Linked DNA regions of Homo sapiens: regions 2 and 3 are each linked to region 1. The links are contacts of gene promoters, found by promoter capture Hi-C in blood cells and fetal thymus (Javierre and others, 2016). All regions are on one chromosome and are shown on one strand. The core of a region is centred on a gene start or on the middle of the fragment in contact, and the rest is flanking DNA. Distances in the headings are between cores, read along the strand shown.

Region 1 (3,663 bases), core at 1,086-3,585:
CTTTTTTTTTTTTTTTTTTTTTTGAGATGGCATTTCGCTTTTGTTGCCCAGGCTGGAGTGCAGGGCACAGTCTTGGCTTACTGCAACGTGCGTCTCCCGGGTTCAAGCGATTCTCCTGCCTCAGCCTCCCAAGTAGCTGGAGCTACAGGCATGCACCACGACGCCCAGCTAATTTTGTATTTTAAGTAGAGACGGGGTTTCACCCTGTTGGCCAGGCTGGTCTCAAACTCCTGATCTCAGGTATCCACCCGCCTCGGCCTCCCAAAGTGCTGGGATTACAGGCGTGAGACACCGTGCCCGGCCGACTTTACTAATTCTTAATCCTGTCCCACCTTGCTGGCTACAATTTTGTGAAACTTCTATCTCACTTCTTTTTTTTTTTTTTTAGATGGAGTCTTGCTCTGTCGCCAGGCTGGAGGGCAGTGGCGCGATCTCCACTCACTGCAACCTCCTACTTCCGCGTTCAAGCGCTTCTCCTGCCTCAGCCTCCCAAGTAGCTGGGATTACAAGCACGTGCCACCACGCCCAGCTAATTTTATATTTTTAGTAGAGACGGCGTTTCACTGTCTTGGCCACGATGGTCTCGAACTCCTGACCTCGTGATCCTTCCGCCTCTGCCTCCCAAAGTGCTGGGATTACAGGTGTAAGCCACCGTGCCCGGTCCTATCTCACTTCTTTTACAACCAGAAGGCTAACTCCAGCCTTTATAAACATACCCACAGGAAATACTGGCCACTGAGTATAGTAAATTTATATTTTTCGTTTATATTTCTCATTCACTTTACATGCAATAGATAGCTTTTACTTTTACAATCATAAAAACTACTTCAAACGCTCCGCATATGTTCACATTAAACACACCATGAGTTTATTTTTTTAATAGCTTTTTAAAGATACAGATTTCTTTTTTTTTTTTTTTGAGACAGAGTCTCGCTCTGTCGCCCAGGCCGGACTGCGGACTGCAGTGGCGCAATCTCGGCTCACTGCAAGCTCCGCTTCCCGGGTTCACGCCATTCTCCTGCCTCAGCCTCCCGAGTAGCTGGGACTACAGGCGCCCGCCACCGCGCCCAGCTAATTTTTTGTATTTTTAGTAGAGACGGGGTTTCACCTTGTTAGCCAGGATGGTCTCGATCTCCTGACCTCATGATCCACCCGCCTCGGCCTCCCAAGGTGCTGGGATTACAGGCGTGAGCCACCGCGCCCGGCCTTTTTTTAAAGACGGAGTCTCGCTCTGTCGCCCAGGCTGGAGTGCAGTGGGGAGTAGCTGGGATTACAGGCGCCCGCCACCACGCCCGGCTTTTTTTTTTTTTTTTTTTTTTTTGTATTTTTAGTAGAGACGGGGTTTCACCGTGTTAGCCAGGATGGTCTCGATCTCCTGACCTTGTGATCCGCCCGCCTTGGCCCCCCAAAGTGCTGGGATTACAGGCGTGAGCCACCGCACCTGGCCAGATTTCAAGGGTGGAAGAATAAAACTGAACCAAGGGCAGCCAGATTTTTCTACCAGAGGTGCAAAAGAAAACCTGATACACAAAAATTTTAGTTATGGCATTTCAAAATCCTAAATAAACTAGAAAGCTCGTTTTTCCTACAAAAATTTATTTTTGCTATTATGAACAAACCCTGTCAGAGCCTTGATCCTTTTTTTTAAATTCCAAAATTGACGCAAAGGCTACCAAATGCAGTACAAAATGAAGTCGAAAAATCTAAAAACGATTTCACTTCTACTTCCTACATACAGATGGCAAATAACTTTTCCTTCACTTTCCTTTCTCTTCCTTTAATAAATTTAAGAATTTTAATTAATGTTTTTTAAAAAGGCTGCTTTCAAGTTCAGAGACAAAAATTGGCACAGTTAGAAAGGAGGTCACCAACACGGTCAAATAGGGACTCGCTCCGCCGCAATGCCTCTGGACCTCTTCATCTCTCAGGCTGGGAAAATAAAGCAGACAAGCTCTGAAAAACGCCCGGGACTAACTGTTAAGAGGCCCTGCATCCTCAGTTGAACATTCCTTCAGGAATGCCCGGGGACCTTGCTGGGGGGGTTCAGGAAGGTGTCTGACTCTCTGGGAGTGTGTCTTGAGGTTTCGCCTAAAACTTAAAATAAGAAAATCGGAGGCCTGAGAGAACTTTGCAAACAAATGTCCAGCATCTTCTCTGACGCTTAGAAAGTCCGTTACCCGCGCGGAGGCGAACTTCTCCACTCACTGGAAGGCCACCAACCCTAGCTAACGCCACGCCCAGGCCGCCAACTGGCTGACCCGGAAGTGCTCGGCGGCGGCCGCGGCGGCGGGGACGCGGCCTAGCCGAAGCACCCGCGCGCGCGCGCGCGCGCTCGTTCTCCGCGGAACTCCCGCCGGCGGCCCGGCTCACGCGGAGGCGCGCCCGAACTGTCGCGGCCGCCGCCAACATGGCCGAGACCAGCGAGGAGGTGGCGGTGCTGGTGCAGCGGGTTGTGAAGGACATCACTAACGCCTTCAGGAGGAACCCACACATGTGAGTCGCGCGCCTCCGCCGCCTCCGAGGGTCGTCGGGAGCGGGCGGGGGCGGGGCCAAGCGTCCACCCGACCTCGGGCGGCGGGCGGACAGCGGGTCCTGGCCCACGAGCCCTTCTAGGGAGGAGGCAGAGCCGTGTCGGGCGGGACCGTTGTCGGCCGCCGCTGGCCCGGCTTTCCGCTACCGGGACGCGCTCGCGGTCGAGTCCCTAGAAGTGACCTCAAAAAATCAAAACGGAACTACTTTCTCTGTCCCTCCCCACCTTTTCATAGGAGTTCACGAAACTCCAGAGACGTCCCCCGTAGGTCGACATCCTTCCTGTGTTTAAGGTACTCGGGCGCACACAACGATGTGGGTCCGTGTATGCCTTGTAAACACAACTCTTGAGATTCATCCCGGACGTTGGCAAGAGGGGGTAACCGATCCTCTTACTTTTAATGAGCCTCAAACCCCTCAGTTTACTAACTAAAGGTGGTTTGAGGCTGCTTTTGACTTTAGCCTTACTTGCCACAAAATTGTAAAGTGACTCCGATAATACATTGTGTTTTGAAAGGTGAACAGAACATTCTCAAGAGAAGCTTCTGTGGGCGCAGTGTGGAGTCTGGGATAAAGCAAATGAAACCTTGATACTTTTTAGCATAAGCGGATTCATAGTTACAAGGAGCATGTTAACTCATTTTTATCCCAACACTGCTGCCCTCTTTAACGGGACACTGCAGAACTGACATATGTATCTCTTCCATTTTACTTGAAGTACTGTGGGAAGATACCGCAAGAGTCTACTTTTTGTAACACTTTGCTTTTATGTAACAAGTGAAAAGAAAGCTATTGAGAGAGAGAGAGAGATCTACATTATACAAAGGTGTAGGGAAGAAGCAACAATGTACCTCCTTTCCCATACCTCTTCCTCCTCAAAGAAAAGAAACATGGCATCCAGTTCTGCATTACTTTCATTTTAGCTAGTTGTTTTTGGAGTTTATTTTTTTTTTTTTTAGTTTATTATTTTTTATTATTATTTAATTTATTTTTATTTTATTCTTTAGACTGGAGCTCATGATTTTTTTTTTTAAGTATTCTAACCGGTTCAGCTTTTCTGCCTAAAAAAGTTGCCAAACGTGTATCTTACCAAAGTGTTCTTTTCCTCCAAGGTGATGATTGTAAAACAGTTAA
Region 2 (3,673 bases), core at 94-2,593, 2.2 Mb before region 1:
ATGAAGAAGATACATGACCTTGGGGCTCTAAGAAATATATTTTGGGAAATGCTATTAAAAACAATACTGACTATATATATATTATTAATAGCATCCTCAAAAGGATGACAGATGCTCCTCCATTTAGTTTAATGTTACTCATCCTTCTGATTTTTGGGGAGCTTTCCTTAACCCTCCAAACATAATCAAGACTTCATGCTATTATAGATACTCTCAGGGCTCCCTAGACCGTTCTTTCATAGCTCTTACTGCTGTAGTATTAACATACTTGAAAGATTATTTGATTAATGCCTGTCACTTCTCCCACCAAATCACAAGCTTCAATTAAGACTGTGACTGTATATTTTGCTCAACCCTATACTTCCAATATCTAGCACAATGTTTGGTACCAGATAACACATGTGGAATACAGACAGGAATACCAGAATTTCACTGCGGCCTTTTTGGCATAGTGCAAAACTGAAAACAACTCAATGTTTATTAATAGGAAAGTAGTTAAATAAGCTAATCCACATTTGTGCTGTATAATATTACACAGCCATTTAAAAAATAAGCTTAATCTTTCTGTTCTGACACATCCACTTTACTGAATGAGAAGGGCAAAGATGTATTTTATTACATATGCACTGTATCATACAGACATATCTAGAAATGTACACATCAAAGTGTTAACAGTGACTATATCTGAACAGGACTAAAACTGGGAACAGAGACTTTCACTTTTATACAGTACCTTATATACTTCTCTATTGTTTCAGTATTCTTCAACAAGCATGCATTTCTTTTCTAATTAATTTTTTTAGGCTTTGATCAACTGCAGGGCCACATAAATTATTATGGGCTTTATTCTTAGTTCTTATTTTTATCCCTATTTCTTAAAAATATTTTTGTAGCTGGGTACGGTGGCTCACACCTGTAATCCCAGCACCTTGGGAGGCCAAGGTGGGCAGATCGCTTGAGGTCAGGAGTGACCAACCTGGCCAACATAGTGAAACCCCATCTCTACTAAAAATACAAAAATTAGCCAGGCATGGTTGTGTGCCCCTGAAATCCCAGCTACTTGGGAGGCTGAGACAAGAGAATCACTTGAACCCAGGAGGTGGAGGTTGTGGTGATCCATATCACGCCACTGCACTCCAGCCTGGGCGAGAGAGCGAGACTCTGTCTCAAAAAAAAAAAAAAAATAATAATAATAATTTTTGTAATGATCTCTGTAGCAATCCTCAGAGGAAAGTAAGACAAGAGATAGTACTAACCCAGTATCATAGATTAAAAGCTATAGGTAAATTGCCTGACATCATCAAGCAAAACAAATGACAGAACTGGGGCTAAGGAATGGCTCTTTTCTCTTAGTCCAGTGCTCTTTTCGTTGGACATCACTGCCTTTCCAGTAAGGGAAAGAAGGCTGCCTTGATCTGCTCAACATCTCAGTACTAAATGACTAGAAAAGATTTAAACCTATTCCCACTGCCGACCCTCTGAATCCCCATAAGTCATTTGAGGGTACCGGTGACCAATGGCCAGAGGGACCTCTTTTAAATAACCCCAGGGAAGAGGAGGTTACAAATCCCGGCGCAAGCCCCTTCACTGTCAGATAATTCCCTCATATTGAGCTGAAACCTATTTTTGTTACTTTGATTCCCTGGTCCAAGTTTGGCCATTTGAAATGGCACAAAATTTGAATATACTCTCCTTTTCTAGAGTATATTCAAGCATATAAAGAAAGCTATCATCTGTGTCCTTTTGAGAATGAGTGCTTTACCTATATTAACTTCCAATAAAACATCTGTAATTATCCAACTTCTAATTGCAGTGAGTCCTAACAAACTGCTTGGCAGAGGAGGAAAAGAAAAACTATCATGTAGGACCCCTACCAAATCATAAAGTATTTAATACAAGTAGTCAATTGTTACTACAGTCCTCTAAGGCAGGGGTGTCCAATCTTTTGGCTTCTCTGGGCCATACTGGAAGAATTGTCTTGGGCCACACATAAAATACACTAACACTAATGACAACTGATGAGCTTAAAAAAAAAAAAATCACAAAAAAATCTCATAATGTTTTAAGAAAATTTACGAATTTGTGTTGGGTTGCATTCAAAGACGCCCTGCACCATGTGTTGGACAAGCTTGCTTTATGGGGAGTTACAGAGAACCGTGCATTTTTTATCACTCCTTTGTTAGATGTCACCAGATCAAATAGCTTTCCAGTGTAAAGAACAGGCACAAAGTTAGGATCAGATGCTTCTGACAAAGTCTTGGCTTTAGATGGCTACTCATAGCAGATGCAAGAATCTGTTATGATCACAGACAATTATTAGCTATTCATTACACAGATGAACAATCAACCGAATGATTTTTCCTCAGTAAAATATTTTGTGTTGTTTTTGTCAGAACCTTCAATAATGAAGTGGCCTGGTGGTCCTCCTGATTAACAAATGAGACTTTTTCATAACTTAAAAGAGGGAAAGGAATTAAAGATAAAAAGATAAAAATGGTCAAATGCAACTTAGTGACTGAACCTGAGACCCAGGAAAACATTTAGGACCAGAATGACATAGTTATTAGATAACACCAAGAAAATGCACAATGAAAAGTACAAGTAGGAGAAGCTACACTATAGTTAAATACTCATTAAAACTGCTTTTTACGAAAACAGACATGAAAAACAATCAAAAGCAAATGTTTGTGCACAACCTTAGGGTAAGAATACACAAGACGCAGACATCTATTTGGAATAGTGCAGCTTTTTATTTTTATTCTGGTTTACCTATTGATAATGGGAGCAAACTTGGGAAAGTCTTCCCAAATGTTGCTTCAGGTTTTCATTCTGAAAAACCTCTCAACCTAAGTGGGGGAAAGGAGAGCACTTAATTTAAAATATTCTTCCTTATTCTCCCTTACTGAGCTGTGTTGCCCTTCACCAATATTTATCATAATTTGTATTTACTTATCTTTCTGCTTTCTTTTTGCCCATATCACCTAGAAACTATAAACTCCGTGAAGGGAGAGTCAGCTCTTTTGAACACGGTATACCTATGAACACAGGGCCTTGCACACGGAAGGTGCTTATTAAATATTTGTAGAATAAGCAAAGAAAGAAAGAGGAAAGGAAAAGGAGATCACAGGTTACCAAAAACAGATGACTTTGCTTTCCCAATCAATGTCGGGAAATTAATCACTTATTGAACACTTACTATGACCTAGGCCATTTATGCATAATCATATAGTTTCGCCTCCCAACAATCCTGACAAATTTGCATTTGAGACCAAAGTAAGGCTCAGAGAAATTAAATATTATACAACTCACTCAAGCCGCACACCTAGTAAATTTGAGCTCCATAACTTTTGTGAATATTAGGTTTATCTGAGTGATGCTGGCCCCTAATATGCCCCTGTTGTCAATGATTTTCTCTCCATACAGCTATGGAGACAGGGAGAGAGATTCACAGCAAAGAGCAAATTAGTAGTTTTTTGTTTTTGTTTTTTGAGACGGAGTCTTGCTCTGTCGCCCAGGAGTGCAGTGATGTGATCTCAGCTCACTGCAACCACCGCCTCCAGGGTTCAAGCGATTCCCCTGCCTCAGCCTCCCGAGTAGCTGGGATTACCGGCACCCGTCACCACGTCGGCTAATTTTTGTATTTTTAGCAGATTGGGAGTTTCGCCATGTTGGC
Region 3 (3,514 bases), core at 38-2,537, 2.6 Mb before region 1:
TTCAAGCGATTCTACTGCCTCAACCTCCCGAGTAGCTGGGACTACAGGCGTGCGCCAACCACGTCCAGCTAATTTTTGTATTTTTAGTAGAGATGACGTTTCACCATGTTGCCCAGGACGGTCTCAATCTCTTGACCTCGTGATCTGCCCACCTCGGCCTCCCAAAGTGCTGGGATTACAGGCGTGAGCCACCGCGCCCGGACCTCAGACTGGCTTCTTTCACTTAGTAATATCCATTCAAGTTTTCCATGTCTTTTCATGGCTTAATAACACGTTTATTTTAGCACTGAATAATATTCTATTATCTGGATGTACCACAGTTTATTTCTCCATTCACCTACTGAAGGGTATCTTGGTTGCTTTCAAGTTTTGGCAATTACGAATAAAGCTGCTATGAATATCTGTGTGCAGGTTTTTTTGTGGACATGTCTTCAACTCCTTTGAGTAAATACCAAGGAGTGTGACTGCTGGATCATATGGTAAGAGTATGTTTAACTTCATAAAAAATCATCAAACTGCCTTCCGAAGTGACTACCATTTTGTAGTCCCAACAACAACGAATAAGAGTTTCTGTTGCTTTGCATCCTCACCAGCATTTGGTGTTGTTTGTTTTCTGGATTTTGGCCATTCTAATAGGTACATAGTGGTATCTCATTGTTGCTTTAATTTGCATTTCCCTGATGACATATAATGTGAAGCATCTTTTTTTTTTTTTTTTTTTTTGAGATGGAGTCTCGCTCTGTCACCCAGGCTGGAGTGCAGTGGTGCGATCTCGGCTCACTGCAAGCTCCACCTCCTGGGTTCATGCCATTCTCCTGCCTCAGCCTCCGAAGTAGCTGGGACTACAGGCGCCCGCCACCATGCCCGGCTAATTTTTTTGTGTTTTTTAGTGGAGACGGGGTTTTACTGTGTCAGCCAGGATGGTCTCGATCTTCTGACCTCGTGATCTTCCTGCCTCAGCCTCCCAAAGTGCTGGGATTACAGGCGTGAGCCACCATGCCCGGCCTATGTGAAGCATCTTTTTATATGCTTATTTGTCATCTGTATATCTTCTTTGGTGAAGCTAATGTTTTTATTTATTTGTCCTGCTTCAGTTTATCACTTTTAATTTTTCAATAAAAAGAATTTTCCCTTACATATTTATATGCTTCACATTTAGAGTTGGTCATGATGTTGTAAGTTATAATACAAAAACAACTTAAATCAGTCATATACCAGTATCTGAAGTACTGGCTCTGAAATTCCCAGGTTCAAACTTTATCTTGTTCATTCTAGAGCCATTGATCCACATGGAATAAATATAAATTCATATCTATTTCTAGATATTTATTCACTACTCCCACTTATTCACTACCTAACAATAGTAGTGGTTAGCTATACATTTCTCTTCCAATGACAGAGCATAACTTCAGTATGCAAAGACAAACAAAAAAAAAAAGAAGAGTTTTCTGGATTAAGTTGAAAAATGTTTGTAAGTAAAATTTTAAAAATAGATATACCTTTGTCAGCTGGGTGTGGTGGCTCATGCCTGTAATCCCAGCACTTTGGGAGACTCAGGCACGTGGACAACTTGAGGCCAGAGAGTTTGAGACTAGCCTGGCCAACACAGTGAAACCTGTCTTTATTAAAAATACAAAAGTTAGCCAAGCATGGTGGTACATGCCTATAATCCCAGCTACTGGGGAGGCTGAGGCGTGAGAATCTCTTGAGTCCAGAACGAGGAGGCTGGTTGCAGTGAGCCGAGATCATGCCACTGCACTCCAGCCTGAGTGACAGAGTGAGACTCTGTCTCAAAATAAATAAATAAATAAATACAAATAGCTATATCTTTGTAAGTGAAAAATTCATAAATAAACCATTTATAAGCCAAGGGATGAGTACAGATACTCATTCCTTTGAGTACTTCATTTGAATCTATGAAGGTGGGTAAAGTCGCTCTGAGAGAGTATGAGCAGTGAAAAAACAAAGAGTGCCCGGGACCTAGACCTAAAAAATGCCAACATTTAGGAGATGGACAGATAAGCTGGAGCTAGCAAAAGAGACAGAAGTTGCCTGTTAGAGACTGCTGGGTGAGGTGAGCGATACACAAGATAAGAATGGTATGGCCGGGTGCGGTGGCTCATGCCTGTAATCCCAGGACTTTGGGAGGCCAAGGTGGGCAGATCATGAGGTCAGGAGATCGAGACCATCCTGGCTAACATGGTGAAATCCCATCTCAACTAAAAATACAAAAAAATTAGCAGGGCATGGTGGCATGTGCCTGTAGTCCTAGCTACTTGGGAAGCTGAGGCAGGAGAATCTCTTGAACCCAGGAGGGAGAGGTTGCAGTGAGCTAAGATGATGGCACTACACTCCAGCCTGGGCAACAGAGTGAGACTCTGTCTCAGAAAAAAAAAAAAAAAAGAATGGTTAACTTTCTAGGCTTCGCGCCATGGTTCACACCTGTAATCCATCTGCCAAAGCAGGCAGATTGCTTGAGCTCAGGAGTTTGAGACCAGCCTGGGCAACATGGTGAAACCCATCTCTACCAAAAATACAAATAATTAACTGGGCACGTGTCTGTGGTCCCAGCTACTCCGGAGGATAATGTGGGAGGACTGCTTGAGCCTGGGAGGCAGAAGTTGCAGTGAGCCGAGATCGCGCCACTGCACTCCAGCTTGGGTGACAAAGTGAGACTCCCTCTCAGAAAAAAAAAAAGGTTAACATTCTAATGGTAAATATAATTATGAAATAAATTTAAAGGGGGAAGTGATCCTGAAGAGGCAACAAACACTGTGCCAAAGAACAGAAGGTTGTACTCTCACTAGATATATGACAATGGACAGGATATATAACTTTGCCCTGAGCCTCAGTCAGTCAACTCCTCCAGCAAAAGGAGAGATAAGAGTTATTTCAATAGGCTGTTGTGAGAATTTATCAAATTAATACATTTGAATATACATTGTAGGTGGAAAGACATTACACAAACTTAAGATACTTGCCTTGGCTCTCTGCCTAGAACTTAGATTGCTCCAGGACAGAGGCCCACCCTACCCACTTTTCTCATGCTAGTCTTCTGTCTGAATCCTGACCTCCCTAATTGTTTCTAGCTTTTTTTCTGCTGGCTAATAGGACCTTAGGAACAATTGCCTCCTGCCTAAGCTTTATAACAGCACAGTTGCTGGGCTCTAACTAAATCACTGACACCATTCCTGTCTTCCTGGCCAACCCCACCACCCATGAACCCAGGTTATGATATGCTCCAAAGTATTGTTTCTTTTTCTTTTCTTTTCTCTTTTTTTTTGAGAGGGAGTCTTGCTCTGTCACCCAGACTGGAGTGCAGTGGCACAATCTCAGCTCATTGCAACCTCCGTCTCCTGGGTTCAAACGATTCTCATGCCTCAGCCTCCGGAGTAGCTGGGATTACAGCCACACACCACCACGCCCAGCTAATTTTTTTTCTTTTCTTTTTTTTTTTTTTCTGAGAGGGAGTCTCACTCTGTCGCCCAGGCTGGAGTGCAGTGGCACGATCTCG

What was found. Contacts are between HindIII fragments. The CHiCAGO score rates a contact against its expected background, and 5 or more counts as called.
Region 2: a contact is called between a fragment that was not itself captured here and the fragment with the promoter of PTAR1 in region 1, in 1 of 17 cell types (non-activated CD4 T cells). The highest score is 7.7, in non-activated CD4 T cells.
Region 3: a contact is called between a fragment that was not itself captured here and the fragment with the promoter of PTAR1 in region 1, in 1 of 17 cell types (non-activated CD4 T cells). The highest score is 6.0, in non-activated CD4 T cells.

What each region holds. Positions count from the first base shown.
Region 1 is chr9:69,758,683-69,762,345 of GRCh38, reverse strand. It overlaps PTAR1 (protein prenyltransferase alpha subunit repeat containing 1), which reads left to right and starts at 2,335. Exons shown (of 8, transcript NM_001099666.2): 1 at 2,335-2,493. The coding sequence starts at 2,408. It overlaps LOC105376076 (a long non-coding RNA gene), which reads right to left and starts at 2,251. Exons shown (of 4, transcript XR_929910.3): 1 at 1,873-2,251. RefSeq lists silencers at 1-273, 2,178-2,647 and enhancers at 458-1,313, 2,788-2,837. The HindIII fragment of the contact is 9,606 bases long and covers 1-3,073 here.
Region 2 is chr9:71,912,695-71,916,367 of GRCh38, reverse strand. The region is part of intron 1 of C9orf85 (chromosome 9 open reading frame 85); the gene reads right to left. Among named protein-coding and RNA genes, the nearest start is that of C9orf85, 2.9 kb to the right of the region's middle. The HindIII fragment of the contact is 1,574 bases long and covers 557-2,130 here.
Region 3 is chr9:72,370,863-72,374,376 of GRCh38, reverse strand. No RefSeq gene overlaps it. Among named protein-coding and RNA genes, the nearest start is that of ZFAND5, 7.4 kb to the right of the region's middle. The HindIII fragment of the contact is 3,712 bases long and covers 1-3,143 here.